2 separate regions of the Homo sapiens genome follow, and region 1 is linked to region 2. The links are contacts of gene promoters, found by promoter capture Hi-C in blood cells and fetal thymus (Javierre and others, 2016). All regions are on one chromosome and are shown on one strand. The core of a region is centred on a gene start or on the middle of the fragment in contact, and the rest is flanking DNA. Distances in the headings are between cores, read along the strand shown. Region 1 holds the start of LOC105377113 (a long non-coding RNA gene). Region 2 holds the start of CFAP20DC-AS1 (CFAP20DC antisense RNA 1).

Evidence for each region. The method cuts DNA at HindIII sites, captures the fragments that hold promoters and counts their contacts. A CHiCAGO score of 5 or more calls a contact.
Region 1: a contact is called between a fragment that was not itself captured here and the fragment with the promoter of CFAP20DC-AS1 in region 2, in 1 of 17 cell types (endothelial precursors). The highest score is 5.0, in endothelial precursors.

Annotation. Positions count from the first base shown.
Region 1 is chr3:59,849,935-59,854,693 of GRCh38, reverse strand. The region is part of intron 8 of FHIT (fragile histidine triad diadenosine triphosphatase); the gene reads left to right. It overlaps LOC105377113 (a long non-coding RNA gene), which reads right to left and starts at 3,660. Exons shown (of 3, transcript XR_007095936.1): 1 at 3,572-3,660. The HindIII fragment of the contact is 1,723 bases long and covers 1,143-2,865 here.
Region 2 is chr3:58,822,465-58,826,980 of GRCh38, reverse strand. It overlaps CFAP20DC-AS1 (CFAP20DC antisense RNA 1), which reads right to left and starts at 2,510. Exons shown (of 3, transcript NR_110820.1): 1 at 2,406-2,510. All of the region lies in intron 14 of CFAP20DC (CFAP20 domain containing), which reads left to right. The HindIII fragment of the contact is 7,858 bases long and covers 1-4,516 here.

The DNA.
Region 1 (4,759 bases), core at 755-3,254, 1.0 Mb before region 2:
TGTGCCTGTGAAAAACAATTCTATTCCCCAGACCTCAGTTTTTTCATCTGTAAAAATCACAAAATTGTGAGGATTAAATAAAATAAGCTCTGGATTCTGCCCTGCACTGTGCTTGGACTAGAGAGTGCTCTGCGGTGTGAGAGAGAGGGAAATGAGATTTGCTAAATATGTGATGCCAGCACCTGGATTCCCTAAGACAATGAGTTCTGACACTTCACGAGGTAGAATAATGACCTAAGTGATGATTGGGATGCTCATTGGAAAGTCAGATGGGAAACTTGACCTCTTTGCCTTCCTGTCCCTGTTTTTTTGCACATGCGACGTAAGCACAATACCGAGCTTCAATTATTTATCAGACGTATTTGTGTTCAGTGACACGTGTGGCAGATATAAATCTGTGGGTTCTTCCCCCTGGAATGCTTCCGGGCGAGTTATACAGCAGGGACCCTTTAAAGCATCAGCGTTGAAGAGCAGAGATTGATTTCCTTCCCAGCCTTTTTCTTTCATGCACCTTAGGCTTCTGGGGATTTCCTTGCAGTGCAGGGCTAACGACTTTTGATACCAATCAATGCAAAGCTAATTAATTTACTTCACAATTTTCATGTACTCGAAGTACCCAATGGTTCAAATGATTTGTTGTTGTTTTTTGTTTGTTTTTGTTTTTTTTAGAAGTCTGTTCTTTGTCTTATTTTTATTTTTTACACGTGGACTAATTAGCTCCTGATGACTTTATCTATTGGTGGGATTCTAATTGTAGCAGGAGTGTGGATTGCAACGAAGGAGCACTGAGATTCCATGACTTCCATGCTTTTTAACTGCTAAGTCTTCATGACAGGAACTCTAGACTCTCAATAAGTATAATTTTATTTTGATAGTTTATGGAAATTAGCTAGCTAATTTTAACTGTCTCTGGGAAGTTCCAACATGGCATGAGATGGAAAGTGTCTATGTGTGTGTCCCCATATCTCTGTGTCTGCATATGTGTCTGTCACACACACACATGCACACCCACAATAGAATATGATGAAAATAAAAATTTGTGGAAATTATTCTCAATCTGGAAACTATAAATTCTTCACTTCTTAATTTAAAACATCATCCTTTCATGGTGATATTAAAGAATTAGTTCATTTAGATAAGCTTCCAGTTTCATATTTTGAAGTATTTAGTGGATATTTTATTGACTGAAGATTACACTTAGTTTTCATGTTGGTATAATTTAAATATATTATTCATAGGACTTGCAAATCACATAATACAACTGAGAAAACAAGATGTACCTCAATGATAGAAAGTATAGGCTATGAAATTCACCAAACTTGAGTTTGAATCTTGGCTCTAGCTTACAATGGCCAGTTTGAAATATCTACATTCTTTGAGTTTCAGCTTCTTGAACTGTAAAATGAAGATCATAATAGCCTATGTGGATATTTCAAAAATGAGTGTTCAAACAGTGAGATACCACCACACACTTATTAGAAGAGCCCAAATCAGAACACTGACAATGCCAAATGCTAGAGAGGATGTGAAGCAACAGGAACTCTCATTCATTTCTGTTGGGAATGCAACATATTACAGCCTCTTTGGAATACAGTTTGGCGATTTCTTACAAAACTACATGCTCTTACAACATGATCCAGCAGTTGTATTCCTTGATATTTACTCAAAGGAGTTGAAAACATAGCCACACAAAAATCTACACATGAATGTTCATAGCAGTCTTATCCTTAATTGCCAAAACATGGAAGCCACCAAGAAATTCTTCAGTGGGTGAATGGATAAATACACTGTGGTACATCCCAACAAGGGTTTCTGATTCAGTGCCAAAAACAAATTAGCTATCAATCCATGAAGAGACATGGCGGAAACTTAAATGTATATTACTAAGTGAAAGAAGCCTACCTAAAGAGGCTGCATGCTCCATGATTCTGACTATATGGAATTCTGGAAAAGGCAAAATTATGGAGATAATAAAAAGATCAGTGGTTGCCAAGGATTAGGAGGGAGGGAGGGATGAATAGGCGGATCACAGAGGATCTTTTAGGACAATGAAACTACTCTATATGATACTGTAATGGTGGATACATGCCATTATACATTTACCCAAACCCATAGAATGTACAACACCAAGACTGAATCCTCTTGTAAACTATGGACTTTGGGTGATATGTCCTTGTAGGTTCACAAATTGTAACAAATGTACCAGTCTGGTGGGGGGAAGTTAATATGGGAGGCAACATATGTGGGGCAGGGGATATGTGGGCTATCTCCGTACCTTACTATCAGTTTTGCTGTAAACCTAAAACTTCTCTAAATATAAAGTCTTTACTGTTTTAAAATGAGTATTCATGTAAAAGGTGTGGCGCATTTCTTGGTATATAGTATGTGTGATATAAACACCACCCGCTTGTCGATGGGGGTAATATTACTGTTTGGTAATTCGTTCTCTTGCTCTACTCTCTACCCGAAGAACAAAGCACCACCCAAGAGTTTAAAAATTAAAGAGCTTACACTGAAGGCCTCCAGCTAGTTTACCTAAGGAGATGGAATGTGGCTGGGTGGAGAGCCATATGCTGGAGAACAGAACTCCACCATACCTTGAATGATTATATGTGATTTTCAGAACTACTCAATGTAACAGTTTAATTAAAATATCCAGGAAGAACTAATATCCCCCGACTGGGTGAATCTTATCTCTACTAAACTGAGACTCAAGGAATGTGTTTTAGAGCAAGATGAAAGGGTAAATTACAATCAGTTCTACAGGTATGTGTGACTACTCTTTTTCTCTTAATTGGGACCTTCTTACTAGTTTGTTTTAAAAAGACTGCAAAGTCGTGTCTGATTTTCATGTTGTCAGAAGCTTGTAGGAGCTTTAATCTTGCAGTTTAAAAATAACACCTCCAAGAAGAAACTAACATAATAATGCATGTAGCATCACTGGGGATCAAGGTAAATTCTAGTGGGAATGGCAACTTGTGATAGTGATATTCTGTAGTTTTGGGCAAGACCCTCTTGTCTCTTGAGAACACGAATGAATGTAATAAGCCTGACTGAGGGGTGAAATGAGCTTTGCAACAATGACTAAGAACAAAGCTAAGTATTACATAGGTTGGGTGTGTATCAAGTGATAATTGAATGGGCTTGGAGTTGGCTAAACCTGGGTTTGAAGCTCAAGTCTACCACTCCATTAGCTGTTTAACTTAAGACAAGTTACTTAGTTTTTCACACTTTGCCTTCTTCTCTGTTAAATTGAGATAAACATAGGTCCCTTGCATGGGAGTTGTAAGGATCAAGTACAATAATGGATATGAAATACTTAGCATAGGTCTGGCACATAAGAAATGCTCTGCATATTTCTAATCTTAACATTTTCTATTAAATATTACATTTTACCTGACATTTAACCAGTAGCTAATGAGCCATAAAAGTTCTAGTTAGTTAATAATTAATGAGCTCTGATCGTTTTTGAGCTATGAGGATTACACCACTCTACTACCACCATCTTCATCAACTTTAGATTCCTCATATGAGACCATCAGCTGACTGTCTGGAACTCAGCCAGATTGACCTTGTTAGAAGATCCAGGAGGAGCCATTGAGTCCTGGATCAGAATATCACAGCTTCATCATCAGTGTCCAAATCCAAAATAGAGAAGACCCTGCTCTTTTCATTGATTTTTGTTTACCAACCCCTTGTGAACAATGAAACTGGAAGACTATTAGAAGTAGAAAGTATTGGCCATAATCCAGGTTATTCCCTCGAAGGGGAGCTTTGGTGACATCAGAATGGATTAGAACATACAATCAGGCTTTTAGGTTGCCAGGATCACCACCTCTACCTCCCCTTGCACAGTAGTATTCTTTTTGTTGCCTTACCAACACATTTACAAATGCAGAAAGACTCTTGCTTTTGTGGCAAGTCACACCCACAAGGTGCCTTTTCTCAGACATGTGTGAGTCCTTCAGTCATTGTTCCCAGTGTCAGTGTTGAGTGCAGGAGCTGAGAAGAGAGGTGACTCATTTTTAATTGATATCTTAAATAAAGTTCCTTGGGGTGGCCATGTATTCTGTCCCTAACCTCTCTGGTTAGAGAGCCTGAGCTTGTATCGGCTCATTAACTCTAATAGCTTGACCTTTAGCTTCTCTTCTGTGTGTGATGTACCAGCCTTCACTTCTCCTGCGTAATTTAAGTGCAGGGATATACCACATTTTTTATTGGAGGGCTTAGGTTTTTCAGGGTTACCCTGAGTCTGAGTTTCATTTTAATGAGGCAGTGCCAGAAAACAACAAGGATTCCATTACCTCTAAGAGATATACCCAAAGCTTTGGGCCCAACATAGTACTTATGCAGCTGCAAATTAGGAATTAAAGTAGATGTTGGTAAAGAGGTAAAGTTGTCTGTTCAAAAAGTTGCTAGGGAATATTGCAAATTAAAACATTTGTCCACTGATAATGAAAGTTGACAGTTTCTTCCTGCTTAGATTTTAAATCCAGCATCTTTACTTTTTGCAATTTATGTGGAAATAATGAATGTTTTGTGTTAAGACCTTCTCCCTCTAGGGAACAGGGCTTCACCTTTCTAATTTTTATTAAATTAACTACCAGCATGCAGGGAATTTCATGTTAGCATTTGGTCCTAGCAGATCATTTCAAAACACATTGGAAAAAATATACCTAATTAAAATTGTATGGAAAAAAACCCAGCATGACTTACTTTTAGGCTGTTAGTGCATATAGTTGTGTATCTATAATTTATT
Region 2 (4,516 bases), core at 1,261-3,760:
CTGTTTATCCCTCCTTTTGCTTATTTCTGAAGGCCCCAACTCACTTGTCACTGCTTCATGAAACTCTCCCCAACCCTCATCCCACCCTGAACAGAATTATTCGCTTCCCTCTCTGGGTCCCTGTTATCTTCTGGCTCAATTACAGCACTTATGACATTAGCCAACCACTGTTACCACTATCCCCAGGCCTGGTTGTGAATTCCTTGAAGGCAGAACCCTGCCTGTGTTCTTTCATACCTTCTGTGTTGGAGCACAAAGGCTAGCACAAGGCATCACAGCTAGTTGTCAGTCATTACTTGAATGAATCAATCAATAATATTTTTAAAAATTCCTTGTTTACGGATGAGTTTAGGTCCTTTGCAGGGACATGGATGAAGCCGGAAACCATCATTCTCAGCAAACTAATACAGGAACAGAAAACCAAACACTGCATATTCTCACTCATAAGTGAGAGTTGAACAGTGAGAACACATGGACACAGGGAGGGAAACATCACACAGCAGTGCCCGTCGGAGTGTAGGGGGCTAGGGGAGGGATAGATAGCATTAGGAGAAATACCTAATGTAGATGACGGGTTGATGGGTGCAGCAAACCACCATGACACATGTGTACCTATGTAACAAACCTACACATTCTGCCCATGTATCCCAAAACTTAAAGTATAATTTTTAAAAATTCATTTTTTACTCTAAAATAATTTTCGTCAAGATTCCAAAATAAACATCAGCTTTGCTTTGCTTAAATAAATCCTGAGTGATGCATGTAATATTTTCAATTCAAGATTTGATAAATGGATATTAAATATACACCCAAAGGAAAATCTCCTTCTGAGCAGGGCCTGATTGCAAATAGGAAGAAAAAGATGTAGTCCGGTCCCATTCAGTTTAGCATTTTTACCTGACGACTTCACACACATTGCAGTCTGAAGCCAGAAAGCCTACGCAGAGTAAAATGAAGAGTCTTTAGCAAAATCCTTTGTGTTTAACACAAACTTTGATTCCTCAGCATCTGTACAGTTCAGAGTAATATGTACTGTTTAAAAGGTGTTTAGATATAACAAATTAGTCATTTAAAAGTGTAATTAAATGTAACCACATTCCTCATAGCAAATTGGCTTTTGTAGGCATCTCTTGCTAAATAAATCAAGCCTACTGAGAAATCCATTGGCCTTTGACAGACAAATTTTTCAAAGTTTCTAACTTAGAACCAAATTCAATTAAAACAATACTTTACAACTTCTGTGGAAACCAGGCTACAATCAATCAATTTTGGAGAGTTTCTGTTAGGAGTAGCCCTCGTGAGATTTATTCAAAAACTGGGCTCTCGGCAGCCTTTGGAAGGGCACTAGGAGTTAGTTATAATGAATTTTAAGTGAATTTTATCTTGGTGAGGGATTTTGATTGACAATAGCATAAAGCCATGTTGTGTGTGTGTGTGTGTGTTTTCTTTTTTTAAGGAACAGGAACAGCTATCAATGGACACTGCTTCATGGGATGCCCAAACAAATATAAACTCTAGATCAGTCAACCTGGGCTCAAATTCCAGCTCTGCCATTTATGGACATGATCATCTTTGAAATGGAAATAATAAAAGAACCTTCCTAATATTGGCATTATGCAAATCGAATGAGTACATGAAATGCATGTGCCTGGTGCTTAGCAGAGTAAGCTCACACTGACTGTCAACTGCTGTTTCCCCAAGGTTATTCTCCTCAAAGGGCCACTTGAGTGATCAGAACAGAATTTCTAGGACATTTTCCCTTTTTATGACGACTGAGACCTGAAAGAGTAAGCAGAGATTCTGTAGTGTTTGTTTTGATGTGAGTTTAACCATCAGCATACAGACTGACTCCCTCAGATCCTTCCAAATAAACTCCTTCATTATCTCATTATTTCAATATTTCATTTCACTGTCTCTCCTCAAATGTAGATTCAAGAAAAGTAGGTTTATTGTGCAGCTACCCTGTGAGCAGATGCCCCAAAGCTGTCATTCCTTCAGGTTAATAATTAACATAACCTGAACGGGGGCATGGTGGCACAGGTCTGTATTCCCAGCTAATTGGGAGGCTAAGGCAGGAGGATTTTAGCCCAGGAATTCAAGGCCAGTGTGGGTAACACAATGAGACCCCATCTCTTAAAAAAAAAAAAAAGAATTCCCATACCTAATATCAAGCACATAAGTCTCTTTAGCTTACAAAAAAGAAAAGAAAAGCTCATTGCATGCATCCATCAACATGGCATGTTGCAGAGCATAATATTCGGAGAATAACGAGGCAAAATACACTTAATAAAACTGCAGGCATATGGTGAGGTTCTCAGACAAGTTATTTATGGTCTTGATTAACCTTGCAACATTATCGCCATTTTCATAGGTTTTACATAACAACATAAAAATATTATCTTTACCTTTTAACATGGCAGGATTATCTTATCTCCGGTTCTTTTATTTAGCCTTCATTTCGCTCCCTCACCCCAAAATCTCTAGCAGCTTGATCATGGAAAAGCAAAGCTGCTTGTGCTCCGTGGTAGTTAATTATATATGAATACTGTTTTCCTGGCACTAGCACATAGCAACAGCGCCACCAAAAGGCCGAGGTCCTGAGTTTCTGGGATCTGTTCCATTTCTTTGCTCCACAGCATATCAGCGTTTTTGCATGATATTCCTGGTTGCTGTGTATTCAAAATATAATATATTGGCATTTCAGACTCCTTATAATTAATAGGTTTTAATTTGTTCTGATCTACAGATTCATTAACTTCTCAGCTCTCTTTGGGTAGAATGAGTTTTCTTTTAATCCTCCTGAACTAAAAAGGTATGCAGTTGATTGTGCTAAGCTGCAGATAAATCATATGAGCAGATGTTCTTATACAACTATAGAAATGATATACGAAAACTGATATTAGAGTCAGTGTAATAGTGACAATAGAGACAGTATCTGTACTGTCAGGAGGAAATATTGAAATGTGCAAGTTGTTCTGTGTTTAGTGACTATGAAAGTCACCCCAGGAAATAAACTTTTCTTATTCTCAGAGTACTGTCTATTACATTTTATGATTGTCCCAAATTTAGTAACGTGGCAAAACTGATTTTTTAAATTGTAAATACATAGTGACATGTCATGAGAATGAAAACAATGAAATTAATTTATGGTAAGGAGATAGTCATATATATTTCAAATAAATGTATTTCTTCAGGGTCACTTTTTTTTCCTGCCACAAACAGAACTGATTTTGTCATTTTGTTATTCAAAAACTTAAATAGTCACCACTCTAGATGCACTCTCGAGCTGGAATAAACACTACAGACTAGTGGTTGAGAGGGTAAGCTGTGGACTCAGACTGCCTGGGTTCACATTCTAGCTCCACTCTTTCCTGGCAGGCACGATCCTGGGTTAATACCCAGTGTCAATTTCCTCTTCTGTTGAATGTAGTTGTTCATCCTATTTATTTCATAGAATTGCTCTGAGGATCAAATAAGATCATATCTACCAAGAATTAGCATAAGTACTCAATAAATGTCAATCGCCGCTATTATGATGATGGTCGTAGTTCATTGTAGATACTGGTTGTCATCCCTTTGCATCTACTTACGATATTCTCTAGGTATGACTGAATGCCAAAATCAAAACAAATTCTATATTATTTCATTGGTGCTTTCACAGGATGCTACCTACCTAGAAATAGGTTTACTGCTACATATGTTTATAAGCATATTGTAGGGGAGGAAAAATATCTTTTTCTCACCCACCCTGGATTCATCGCCAAGGCCTCTGTTGCAACAAAAGACAGATTAGCAAAAGAAAAACATACAAATTTATTTCATGTAAGTTTTCCATGATACAGGAGTCTTTATAAGGAAATGAAGAACTGAACAAACAGTGAAACTTGAATATTTTTACTCCAGGTTTGATGAAGAGAGGAAAGTGGTGGAGAAATATGATTGGGCAAAGGAGATATGAGCTAATGGAAATAAACGAAGAAAATCAGCAAGGCTTTTGTTCAGATTCTTCTCTGTGTCCCTGTGTCTTCAGAGATAAGGATGTTCCTTTCTTCAGGGGATAGGGACGGCATCTCTCAAATGAGTATCTTATGACCTGCTCCAGGGGGTGTTCAGAAAATCCTAGCTATGTTTTATGACCAGCTGCAGGGGAGAACAGGAGAAGGTGAGAGTGACCTTCCTGCTACTGTAAATGCCATGTCCTGAACTCCATCAATATCCATTTGTAGGTGAGGATGTCTAGCCTCAGACAGCTAGTTGTTCACCTTTCTATGTGTTCGTGTCAGCAGTTTTTATTTGAAAAGTTTCCATTGGTTACTTTTTTGTTTTCTAACACTTAAAAATCACTATGAGCAAAGATGGAAAGGGATCAGTCTGTATAGTCTTTTTTTTTTTTATTATACTTTAAGTTTTAGGGTACATGTGCACATTGTGCAGGTTAGTTACATATGTATACATGTGCCATGCTGGTGCACTACACCCACTAACACGTCATCTAGCATTAGGTATATCTCCTGAT